Regions from separate parts of the Homo sapiens genome. Here region 2 is linked to region 1. Evidence: promoter capture Hi-C in human tissues and cell types (Jung and others, 2019). All regions are on one chromosome and are shown on one strand. Each heading gives the region's core, a stretch centred on a gene start or on the middle of the fragment in contact. The rest is flanking DNA. Distances are from core to core; before and after follow the strand shown.

Region 1 (6,439 bases), core at 270-2,769:
GCTGGGAGCATGCTGTGATGGTGTACAGCGGACACATTCAGGATGAGGTGAAACAGGCTGGCCCTGGTGAGAGGCTAGATGGGGCTGGGATGAGGGTGGAGACAAGTAGTCTTGGGGTTGGCTTGGTGCAGCTGGGGGGTGCGGGGAGTGTCTCTGAGGTGAGGCCGGGGGTATGGGAACGCCATGTTTGGTCTGGGACACGGTGGGCTTGGGATGGCTACAGGACAGTGCAGTGGAGAGTCAAAAAGGCTGCTCGGACCCAGGTCTGGCGAGATGGAAGCTGGAGGTCAGGTGAGCTGTCTAGGAGAGGGACAGAGTGGGAAGGAGAGGGTCTCGACTCGGCTTTCTTGCCAAAGGAGGGTTCCGAAATGAGAAACTGTGGAATCTAAGCTGGAGAGGAAGAAAGACGGAGAATGAGTGAACGCACACGTGTGGGACAGATAGATGAATATTCATGTCTTTGGCTCCTATGTACCTGAGTCTTCTAAAGCTGCAGGCCATACTACCCCCGGGAGGCTGCAGGGATGCCAGCTGGGAGATGAATGCAACTCTGCTGCCTGGGCATGGGCCTGAGTGAGGGTGCAGACCCCTGCCTGTGATCATCAGGGAGGGTGATGAGAACAAGGTGGCTGACAGGGTGAGGCCCAAGCCTGGAGCTTACCCAGGTGCGGGGATGGGAGGGTCAGAGACCTTTGGGGGGTCTTAGGGAGCTTCCCCAGCCCTAAAGGCACCGCAAGCTGCCACTTCACACTGACCTGGGCATACGCAGCTGCAGGATCCCTTGCTCGCTCTCTCACAAGCAAATGTAGACTGCGCAACCATCCTGACCACAGATCCAGAAAGCCCAGGACATAACAGAGCCGCAGTGCCTGCCCTGATCCACGCGCACACAGATCTAGCCCAGGAACAAGCCCATCCACGGTGAGGAACTTGTGGCCCAGTGGCTGGAGCCTCTCACCTGAGCCCTCACTGCCTGAGGACCCCCAGCCTCTGGCCTCATTTCCCACCCTTTGCCAGCCAGCCTTGGGGACAAAACAGGTCTGGATCTAATCCAAGGTCTGGACTCACCCTGACACCCTGTGAACTCAAGGCCTTCCCTACCTCACCCTGGGCCCAGAGCCCCTACCTGTAAAGTGGAAGTGGGAATGGCCACCAGCCAGGCAGAAACCCTCACTTAGGGCCTCATGGCCAGGCATCAGGACAGTCAGGAGAGGGGCCGAGGTAAGCCACAGAGGCCCTGCCTGTCTTGGTATCCCACCATCGCCAGGAGGGGACTGCATGGGCATCACACCCCTCACAGATGAACAAAGTGAGGCAGAGAAGGGCCTCAAGATGAGTTAGGGGCGAGGCCCCAGCTCTGCTGCTGCCCCTTCCCTTATCACCCCTGCAGCCTGGGATGCGAGGGTGGCCAGTGACAGACCCCAAGGACTCTAGGCTAAGGTCTCCTTACCTGCGTTCTGTGGCCTGCTCCCCGCCTGCATGCCGCCTCATGGGGGTCCTCTGGCTGGCCCAGGAGCACGGTTGGCCCAGCAGAGCAGCTCAGTGTTATGGGGAAGGGAGGCCCAGCCCACCACGCCGACCGCCTGGGGCCCTATGTATATTTAATGATGTCTATTATTCCTGTTTTGTCTCTGGAAAGGAGTGAGCAGCTGACAGGGGAGCCACGAACAGCCTGGAGAGCTGAGCATGGGCCTGCTCCACACTCCAGCGGGGCCCGAGGCCCCCGGGAACTCTACCCCTCCTGGCAGCCTCACAGAACCTGCTGCATCCATCTCAAAAGGCATACCTCCTCCAGGAAGCCTTCCCCGCTGCTCAGAGGTCTTAAATCCGGGGTCTGCACTCACAAACTGTGCAGCCTACACCAGCTTCTGGGGGACAGCAGAACACTGTGGGGGGCCTGGCACAGTCCCTGGCACACGGTAGGCACTCATCGAGCCCCTGCCAGCCCCTCTACTCCTGACTTCTGAGGCAACAGGAAATGACCCGCCACCTTGTTCTCACAGAGCCTCCCTGCCAGCCCAGATGGTCACAAGGGCCTCCTGGGATGCTGCCCACCTTGGCAGCCAGGCCCCTCCGGAGGGGCCAGTCTGGGCCTGACACCCCCGAACACCAACCCCCTGGGCAGAGCCTGCCTGTGCCTGGGTGAGGAACCCTGCAGTCTCCTTGCCACACAAGGCCTGGGTCTGCCTTGGGGCCCAGGCTGCACCCTCTCCGACCCCCAGGCCCAATGTCTGACCTGTGCCCACCTGACTCAACCTGGCTACTGTTCAGCAAGTTTACAAAGTGTTCTCAGTCTGAACAGGAACCGTTTTCAATCCTTTATTTCAGAAAGGAGAGCCAGGAGAACTGGGGACTTAGAAAATACAGATCCTAAACTCAAAAGTCCCTGCCCCAGGCGTGCAGAGCCAGGGTCCTGGGGTTTTGTGCTGGGCAGGGGCTGCCCTGGGAGGGGGAATACAGGGGGAGGCACTTTAGGACACCCCTTAGGCTGTGGAGGGTGTCAGCTGGGCCTTTGAAGCCACTAACCACTGGTTCCCATCATGGAGAGCCCTGTGTGGGGCACCCAAGGGGGTTTCCTCCTGGAAGGGCCCCCAACCCAAGTGTCAGAGAAGCTGGCAAGAGCTGAGGGAGTGAGGTGCCATGACAGCAGCCACAGCCTCCAGGGACCCAAACAGGCCCAGCTACCAGCCTGGCACTGAGCATGCCATCTGCTTTAGGCCCTGGCTGGCGGGCATGTGGGCAACTTGCTCCCTCAGTGCAGGGGGCTGGGAGGCACAGATGCAGGCTCAGCACTACAAACTCAAAACCCCCATGAGAGGGCTCAGTCTTATGGGAAATGCCTCCAACCGAGCCCCTTTGCCCCAACACACTCTTCGTCTGCCTACTGAAGAAACTTCTGTAAATAGCAGAGACTTGAGGGACCCCTTCCTGGGGTACGTGTATTTGTATTTTTCTGTTTGGGTGTTTGTGTGTCCCAGTGGGACCACCTCCCCAGGGAGACGAGGCAGGTGGGCGGGAGGCCCGGCAGGCGCCGTTACTTCTTCACGATCTGGATGACGTCCTCATGCTCCATGGTGTGGGTCAGGCCCACCCGCTGCGGACTGTACTTGGTGCTGGTGCCCTGGGTGAGGAATGGGGGCAGAGGGGTCACCTCAGCCTGGACTGGCCAAGGTCAAGGAAGATATCCCTGGGCGTGTGTGTCCTGAAGGGTAAATGCCATGGCATAAGGTGGGGGCCTCAGGCAGCAGGATGTCCGCAGTTGTCTGACCATCCCTGATCTCAAAGGTTGGGGAGGGCCAGGCACAGTGGCTAATGCCTGTAATCCCAGCACTTCTGGAGGTCAAGGTGGGAGGATCACTTGAGCTCAGGTGTTTGAGACAGCCTGGGCCAGATAGCGAAACCTTGTCTCCATGAAAAATTAGCCAGGCATGGTGGTGTGTGCCTGTAGTCCCAGCTACTTGTGATGCTGAGGTGGGAGGATCGCTTTTGCACAGATGTCGAGGCTGCACTGGGCCATGATCGTGCCACTGCACTCCAGCGTGGGAGACAGAGCCAGACCCTGTCTCAAAAAAAAAAAAAAAAAAAAACCAGAAAAAAAAAAGGGTGGGGAAGGCCCATGTCTACCCTGGGTTGGCATGTACATTCTATGGAGGACAGACACACAGACATGCCAATCCCCACAGGAAGGACAGGAACACCACGCAGAGAGTGTGAATGCCTTGCTTCATGCCTAACCCAGGGGCTGTCCTGGGTCTACCCCCCTGGTTGCTTTCCACCCAGAGACTCACCCACACCAGGGCGTACTTGAACTGGCTGGCGAGTGACCGGTGGATGCGGTGGCACTGGAGGACAGGAGAGAGTCAGGTAGAGAGGTGAGGCTTCACCTAACCCCATCCCAAGCTTGGCTGCACACCCAAAGCTCAGGACACAGGCCAAGAGGCAGGAGTTCCCGCGGCAGGTGCCCACACAGTCTGGGCCTTGTGTGGAGGACTGACGTGCTCAATTCGCACATAGCCACCCAATCACAGCTGCAGGTGGCCCTGCCATTCCCACTCCTGATCTGCCAGCTGTGGTGCATAGTTAGGAATGTTCCCAAAGCCACCAGGGGAAGGTCAGGGGCCTGGCTGCTAGTGGCCCTCTGCTTGCCTTGCCTGAACAGATGCTCCTTTAGAATGGGACAGGGTGATAGCTTGGAGTCCCCCCTGCTTGGTCACCATCTCTCACTCCTCCTGGCCCCACCTGTGGCCTGAAGCTTCCCACACATCACATCACCCCCAACTCCCAGGGCAGTGTATAAACTTCAGTGCTCCTTGGTAGGGGTGAAGATCCCAGGGGTCCCAGATGTCATATAAAACTGGAAGGAGACCCTGGAGGAGGCAGCCAGCAATTGCCCTGAGAGTGTAGACCTCTGGTTGCCACGCTGATGGTGGCACAGTGGAGGGCGGTGGGGAGGGGACTCTGCAATTGTGCAATGTGACTCCTCCTCCCACATGCCCACAGGTCTTCCAGGCCCTGGTGGGAGACCCAACACCTCAGCCCAGCGTCCCTGGGGCGGAGGCCGGCGCCAGGCCTGCAGGAACACTTCCTTGACACAGATGGGAAGGTGGCTGACTCTGGTCTGCAGATGGGTTTTGTTTTACTCAGCTTGCCCAGCATTGCCACTTGTGAGTGACTGAAGGGATTCAGGAGGGTAATCGTGAGTCTCCTTGGCTCCTCCTGCTGTGATCTCAAGCCTAGGCCCTGAGGGAGATGGGACTTTGCCTGGCCTCCTTTGTTTAACACCTCTAGGGTGGCACTCAGAGACCTGGGGCTGGGCTTGCGGAATGAATGAATGCATGAGACCAGATTACAGGCCCTGCCACCACTGTCCTAAGGGGCTGCAGGGACAGCTGGGTCTACAGCATCCCTTGCCTCCAGGATACAGATCCCAAGAAGAAATGAGCTAGAGGAAAACAACACCAGGAAAGCATCAGCCCAGGAGGACGGCCATGTGACCTGAAGGTTGGCCACCATCTGTGCCTGCAGGGTCATGTTCAGGTGACAGAATCCTGGACAGGGAAAGGCAGCCTCTTGCTCCCTGAGCCCAGACCACCTCCCCTGGGGCCTGTGCATGCCTGCTCCCCTACCTGGGATGCTCCCCACCCCAACTCTTCACTGCCAGACCCACTAGTCCTATAAGCCGGCTCAGGTTGCCTCCTTGAAGCCGCTGTCCTGACCTCTGTGTTAAGCTGGTGCCACTCCCTACTCTCCTTGACTGATGCCTGAATGGCATGGAAGCAGGGTTACTGGCATCTCTGCAAAGCCAGGCAGCATGCTGAGTGCCCTACACACTGGACCTCATTCAACGTGTCCTCCTGACTATCCAGGGGGCAGGCAGCACACCCCCCTCACAGTAGAGGTCAGAGCCTCGGCACATGGCTAAGAAGGGGTGCTGCAGACGCAGCCCCAGGCTGTCCAACTCCAGAGCCTGCGTTGACATCTGAGAGTGAGACCAGCAGAGCCCACCCCCAGCCCAGGGCACCTCAGGCAGAACAGAGCCCCAAAGGGCATGCAGAGCTCCCACCCCTTGTCACGGCAGGTCTTGTCAACTCACCACGTGCTCCACTGAGGCCCCTTTCCGGAGAATGATGGCGTCTGTGAAGTCTGGCCTCTCTGCAGGGCAGGATGGGGAGAACGTCAGCCACACATCAGGGCCCACACTGCCATCTTGTGATTCTGCGCGAGGGAAGAGCTGGCCACAGAGGCCCTTTCGGTCTCCTTGCCTTGGCCTAACCTCCCCCTGACATCCAGCACACCCTCCACATAGATCCCTGTACCATCTTCTACGACCTTGATCTTAACACAGTGACTCAAAATAAATCACGTCTAGGATTCACAGTGCCTGCCACCCATCTGCTGTGACAGCACTGACAGAGACCAGGACCTGGACTGAACGGGCAGGGCGCAAAGGGATGCTGGAGTCTAGTGAGGGAAGCTGTAGCTCACTCCTTGCCAAAGTCAGGGTTGATGCAAACTGCTCCGAATTCAGCTGTTGGGACCCCAGGGCATGTGTGTGTGCGCACCAGGAGGATGGGCAGGAGTTAGACATGGGGATGGCTCCTGTGGATTCAGGTCCCTAATGCTCCTGCGGTAGGGCCTGTCACTGTGAGGGGAGGTCAGGAGGGCACTGACTGCTACAGCCAGTGGGGACCCCAAGGTAGCCTTGCCCCACCAGGGTACCCTCAAAACCAGCAGTGCCCAGTGCTGAGAAGGGAAAAGAGCTGAGGTGTGTCTAGACAAGCCAGGCCAGAGCCGGTGCTGGGGTCTCTGGGCACCACACACCGGCCTGGCAGCCTTCTAGGGATGAAGCTCAGCCTGTTTTTCAGCTACGCGCAGTGCAACTCACGTCCTCTCTTCTTGGTGTAGATGCAGGTCAGGGCCAAGTACTCCCAAAGCATCT
Region 2 (6,586 bases), core at 1,800-4,299, 57 kb after region 1:
AATCTCGGCTCACTGCAAGCTCCGCCTCCTGGGTTCACGCCATTCTCCTGCCTCAGCCTCCAGAGTAGCTGGGACTACGGGTGCCCACCACCACGCCCAGCTAATTTTTTGTATTTTTGGTAGAGACGAGGTTTCACCGTGTTAGCCAGGATGGTCTCAATCTCCTGACCTGGTGATCCGCCCGCCTCGGCCTCCCAAAGTGCTGGGATTACAGGCGCAAGCCAACGCGCCCAGCCGAGACACTGATTTTTGAAGACATGGTACTTATATGACAACAAATGAAAAGATCCCAGGACACTAACTGTCTTGAAGCATTCACTACTGCTGAGTGAGAATGCTCTACACTTGACAGTTAAAAAGGGGGGCAGCAGGATTTATAGTGGTGTACTTAAGACAAGACTATACTTGTCTGTCAGCAGCCAGGATAAAAAGAAATGATGTGGCTCTGCCCTGATAAGCCAGTGGGCAGGCAGATTCCCACAACATCATCTCCATCTCATGCCAGCCCCGAAGCCGGAGGTCATCATTGCATGTTTCACAGGGTTTTCCCCAAGCAGAGGTGATTTGAAAGGAACAGTGGACAGAAGATGGACAAACAGGTGGGAAGGATGGGGGGACACTGTTAAGATTCTGATAGCTGAGCAGAGTTCTGGCTGGAACTCTGGGGTTGCTATCATCAGACAACCATTTGCTATTTAAGCAGCAGGTCAGATCGTATTTAAACTGTCCTCATAAGGAAGATGGAACAACTGAGGTCTGTGTGCAGTGCAACCTTTTACTTGGTTGCAAAGCCCCAGTAATCCTCAATAAGGGACAAGGTCTCTGGCTCCCAGCATTTCTTCAATTCTCTAGCAGCCCCTAGATGACCCAGCACAGATCAGATTTACTCACCCAGTGTTTCCGATCAACATCTTCATCTGCATCCCACTTGCGAGTTAAGAAAGGGTGTTTTTTGCTGATTATTTCTCCTTCGAAGAAGGTTGTAAGGGTTGGATACTCCTATGGTAAAAACCCAAATATCAAAATAAGATGTTGAGTGAGAGTTTTTAACCTTTGTACAAAGGAAAAATAAACTTTGCTTTAACTTCTTTCCAGTACCTAGACACTGCTACCTGACAATCCAAACCAGAGTTAGATCGCAGCCAGTTTGCCAACAGGCTGTGGCAATGGACCTGAATCTAAATCACCCAGAGAATGAAGGGTTTCCTGGATTTTGCCAGCAGCAGACAGCCCTTCTTTGACTTCAATTGTTACATGCTAGTCTCTTAGAAAATAATTTGGATGTTTCCACAAATAAATTTTTAATATTCTAGCATACAAAGCAGATCATAACTTGGTAGATTTTACTTTCCAAGGTTAGACCCAAAGAGGCTCCAAAATCACTGTGTCTACCACTAAGGCTCCCTCAAGCCACTGGTTCTCCAACTGGCTCAGTCATTTGTCCCTTTTACACCAATTCTCCAAGGTTCCAGGGTGGATTCTGGGGTAGAATACTTTTTTATTTTTCCTGAGACAGAGTCTTGCTCTGTCGCCCAGGCTGGAGTGCAATGGCACAATTTCGGTTCACTGCAACCTCCTCCCACACCCTGGGTTTATGTGATTCTCCTACCTCAGCCTCCCGAGTAGTTGGGATTACAGTTGGCTGCCACCACGCCCACCTAATGTTTGTATTTTTAGTAGAGACGGGGTTTCGCCATGTTGGCCAGGCTGGTCTCGAACTCCTGACCTCAGGTGATCCACCCGCCTTGGCCTCCCAAAGTGCGAGGATTACAGGTGTGAGCCACCGCACCCAGCCTAAAATACCTTTTATTTTGGCCAGGCATGGTGGCTCACGCCTGTAATCCCAGCACTTTGGGAGGCCGAGGTGGGAGGATCACCTGAGGTCAGGAGTTCAAGACCAACCTGACCAACATGGAGAAACCTCATCTCTACTAAAAATACAAAATTAGCCGGGCGTGGTGGCGCATGCCTGTAATCCCACCTACTCGGGAGGCTGAGGCAGGAGATTGCTTGAACCTGGAGGCGGAGTTTGCAGTAAGCCGAGATCACGCCATTGCACTCCAGCCTGGGCAATAAGAGTGAAACTCTGTCTCAAAAAAAAAAAAAAAAAAAAAAAGTAAATACTTTTTTCAGTGTTCTACATGTTCAGAGAAACTTCTAGTAATGAACTATACAAATGGTCCCTGAAGGTAGTCTTAGAATACCTTGATACATAGGGATACGTTTAATTCTGTCACATGAACTAAGAACAACTTATATGAGGAAAAACATATGAACTAAAAACAATTTATATGAGGAAAAACATATGTAAATCATGTCTGAATGTAAAAACCACACCGTGGAAAACGTAAGCAAGAAGCCATGTGCTGGCTTGGGTGCTTTGTTAATTGCTCTTTGTTCATGTGTTAATAAGTAGGCACCAATGATTTTAAAAAAGATTAATAAGACAAAAAGTTAACACCGTAAAAAGTCTACATTTCTCTGCATTTGTAGAAACCAACCAAGCACCCACCTCTCAGGCTACCTTGCCAAGCCCCTGGTGTCTGCCAGGAGCATGGTTATGAGAGTCACTGGCCTGGAAAACCACAGATTACAGTCCTAACATCAAGGACTGCAGAAGGCCCACGTTTTTCCTTCAGATCAGATGTAAGCCCCTCTTATTCTGCATCAAAAACCTCATTCTGATGGCTTTGCCACATCTACCAACCTGGCCTGCATGTAGTGTAGGACCTTCCTGAGAGAGGCTGCCACAGTAAAAGCCACTGGTGCAGAGGCTCCCAGGAAACAGAACGTCACCACCGCTGCAGGTGGCTCAGGAGGCCTGCTTTAGGATGACACCATGGAGGGGATCTGTTTCCTTAACAGTGAACTTAAAATATGATAAATCTAATACTGCCCCAAACCCACAACCCCCCTATCCTAACACTGTTGCTGGATTCTTCACATAAATATTTAAATACATAGACTGAAAAAATGAGAGAGGAGAAATTTTCCTAAATGTAAACCTAATTTTTAAGGTATAAGCTAACTTTTTTTTTTTTTTTTGGGGGGAGGGACAGAGTCTTGCTCTGTCGCCCAGACCGGAATGCAGTGGCACGATCTCGGCTCACTGCAACCTCTGCCTCCCGGGTTCAGGTGATTCTCCTGCCTCAGCCTCCCAAGTAGCTGGGATTACAGATGCATGCCACCACGCCTGTCTAATTTTTTGTATTTTTAGTAGAGACAGGGTTTCATGGTGTTAGCCAGGACGGTCTTGATCTCCTGACCTCATGATCCACCCGCCTCGGCCTCCCAAAGTGCTGGGATTACAGGCGTGAGCCACCGCACCCAGCCGGTATAAACTAACTTTTAATTATAATCTGTTCTAGGAAAGACTACTAAGGAAAAAAGTTCTCAATAAATCAGCACCTGCATTTGAGATTTTAAACTAGAAGCTATTTTTTTTTTTTTTGAGATGGAGTCTCGCTCTGTCGCCCAGGCTGGTGTGCAGTGGTACAACCTTGGCTCACTGCAACCTCCGCCTCCCGGGTTCAAGCAATTCTCTGTCTCAGCCTCCCGAGTAGCTGGGATTACAGGTATCCACCACCACGTGTGGCTAATTTTTGTATTTTCAGTAGAGACGGGTTTCACCATCTTGGCCAGGCTGGTCTTGAACTCCTAACCTCGTGATCCACCTGCCTCGGCCTCCCAAAGTGCTGGGATTACAGGCATCAGCCAACTACAAACTGTTTATATTATTTTTCCGAGTTTCAAGCTTTAATCTTTTTTCTGAACTTCCTTGAAAGGGATAGGATGAAATGATAAAGAGGTTTTAATACAAGGCCAAGCCTGGTGGCTCACACCTGTAATGCCAGCACTCTAGGGGGCCAAGACAGGAGGATCACTTGAGCCTAGGAGATCAAGATCAGCTTGGGCAACATAGTAAGACCCGGTCTCTATTTTTAAAAAAGGGAGGGGTGGGGAGGAGGTCCTAATATGATTAAAACACTTATGGTTTAAATCACTAGTTTTCTTAATGAATAATTCTGCATTGACTTCTTTGTAAACATACTTTAGGCAGTATATCAGGGTAACTACAGGGTACCCTCAAACTTTGAGAATTAAATAAAATAAATACCTAATAAATGAGATTCAGTGTGTACAGAAGTCACTGAAAAGATAAAATATTCTCAGAGCAGGAACAGGAAATTCAAGCACTTTATTACAGCCCAATGAGGGGTAATTTATAGAGCGGACGAAAAACCATGTCAGAAGAAAGGATATCGAGAAATGAATAACAGAGGCAGCAAAAGCAGGAGTGGGCATCCCTTGGTGGGTCTGGCTGTTGTCAGACATTTAAGTCCCCCAACTAATCCTCCCACTGATTCCAGGCTCACCCAAAACTGTGTGGTGATAGGTACCACGACTTTCCATGTAGACCTGTCTTCTGGAGGATTAACATTCAATTGGCCAATAAGTCAACAGGAACTTCTGGAACATACAGGAATCTCATTCTCTGACAAAAACTGGCACTTTTGTTTTTGTGAGTTTTGGTAGGTGTGACCTGTCTCCCTAGTTAAGCACAAGTCTAGCACAACTTCAGCTGGAGCTTCCAACCCTTCCAAACCCAAGTAATGAGTAAGTGGGGGGCCTGCCCATGGCCCCCAAAGGCTGGGCTCCCAGGTAACCCCTGAAAGCTGCTGGGTTCCCCGGAAAGGTCGCCTCTCTTGACTGACGGATGGCTCAAAAGTGCAAAAAGAATGTTATTTCATATTTATTCTTTACATTTCTAGAATTTCACTTCCAGAAGGCATGAAAACAAACTTTAAAGCTCCGTTTTGCAATGTGGCAATTCCTCAAAGAGTTAAAAACAGAACTATCATTCGACCCAGCAATCCCATTATTGGGTATACACCCAGAGGAGTATAAATCATTCTACTATAAAGATACATGCATGCAAATGTTCACTGTAGCACTATTCACAATAGTAAAAAGTGGGTCAACCTAAATGCCCATCAATGACAGATTGGATAAAGAAAACGTGGTATATATACACCAAGGAATACTATGAAGCCATAAAAAGAAATGAGATCATGTCTTTTGCGTGAACACGGGTAGAGCTAGAGGCCGTTATCCTTAGCAAACTAATGCAGGAACAGAAAACCAAATACTGCCCTTATAAGTAGGAGCTAAATGATGAGAACTCATGGGCTCAAAGAAGGAAACAATAGGCTCAAGCCTGTAATCCCAGCACTTTGGGAGGCTGAGGCAGGCAAATCACCTGAGGTCAAGAGTTCAAGACCAGCCTAGCCAACATGGTGAAACCCCATCTCTACCAAAAGTACAAAAAAAAATTTAGCCTGGTGTGGTGGTACATGCTACCTGGGAAGCTGAGCAGGAGAACTGCTTGAACCTGGGAGGCAGAGGTTGCAGTGAGCAGATATTGCACCACTGCACTCAAGCCTGGGCAACAGAGCGAGACTTCATCTCAAAAAAAAAAAGAAGGGAAGAACAGACAATGGGGCCTACTTGAGGGTAGAGGGTAGGAGAAGGGAGAGGAGCAGAAGAAATAACTATTCAGTACTAGGCTTAATACCTGGGTGACAAAATAATCTCCACAACAGTTACATAGGTAAACCGTGACATAAGTTTATCTATAGATCAAACCTGCGCATGTACACCCAAGCCTAAAATAAAAATTAAAACAAACAAACAAAAAAGCTGTGCTTGTTTGTGAATGTGAGGTAGCTAAGAGGCCATTTAGCTCCTTTTTTTTTTTTTTGACACTTATCTCCTTTTTTTTTTTTTTTTGACACGAAGTCTCACTCTGTTGCCGAGGTTGGAGTCCAGTGGCATGATCTGAACTCACCACAAACTCTGCCTCCTGGGTTCAAGCGATTCTCTTGCCTCAGCCTCCTGAGTAGCTGGGATTACAGGTGCCCGCCACCATGTCCAGCTAATTTTTGTATTTTTAGTAGAGATGGGGTTTCACCATGTTGTCCAAGCTGGTCTCAAACTCCTGACCTCAGGCGATCCAGCTGCCTCAGCCTCCCAAAGTGCTGGGATTACAGGCATGAGCCACTGTGCCTGGCCTATCTCCATTTTAGTAGATACTTTTCCATACTGTATACGTGAGGAAGGCAACTACTATGACTAAAACCCAAATTATAGTTTAATTAAAATAAATTAAAAATTTGATATTTTTGCCAGGCACGGTGGCTCATGCTTGTAGTCCCAGCACTTTGGGAGGCCAAGGTGGGTGGTTCATCTGAGGTCAGGAGTTCAAGACCAGCCTGGCCAACATGGTAAAACCCCATTTCTACTAAAAATATAAAAATTAGCCAGGTGTGGTGGCACATGCCTGTAATTCCAGCTACTCGGGAGGCTGAGGCATGGGAATTGCTTGAACCTGGGAGGTGGAAGTTGCAGTGAGCTGAGATCACACAACTGCACTCCAGCCCGGGTGACAGAGCAAGACTCTTCCTCAAAAACAAAAAATAAAAATAAAAAATTGATATTTTAACAAACATAAATGGAAAAGAAAAAAAACCCAAATACAGGTACAAAATTTATTCAAAGATTCATTGTAGTTTTCTGCATTTTACTA

What was found. The method cuts DNA at HindIII sites, captures the fragments that hold promoters and counts their contacts. A contact is called where the count stands out against the background at its distance.
Region 2: a contact is called between a fragment that was not itself captured here and the fragment with the promoter of MYO15A in region 1, in 1 of the 25 tissues and cell types used here (thymus).

The regions. Positions count from the first base shown.
Region 1 is chr17:18,103,836-18,110,274 of GRCh38, reverse strand. It overlaps MYO15A (myosin XVA), which reads right to left and starts at 1,519. Exons shown (of 66, transcript NM_016239.4): 1 at 1,451-1,519. It overlaps DRG2 (developmentally regulated GTP binding protein 2), which reads right to left. Exons shown (of 13, transcript NM_001388.5): 10 at 6,386-6,439; 11 at 5,594-5,652; 12 at 3,789-3,842; 13 at 2,306-3,121. The coding sequence ends at 3,035. LOC105371566 (a long non-coding RNA gene) reads left to right here. Exons shown (of 3, transcript NR_164159.1): 3 at 1,640-2,584. RefSeq lists an enhancer at 2,576-3,223. The HindIII fragment of the contact is 16,274 bases long and covers 1-4,076 here.
Region 2 is chr17:18,048,540-18,055,125 of GRCh38, reverse strand. It overlaps GID4 (GID complex subunit 4 homolog), which reads right to left. Exons shown (of 6, transcript NM_024052.5): 3 at 892-999. Among named protein-coding and RNA genes, the nearest start is that of GID4, 12 kb to the right of the region's middle. The HindIII fragment of the contact is 5,660 bases long and covers 220-5,879 here.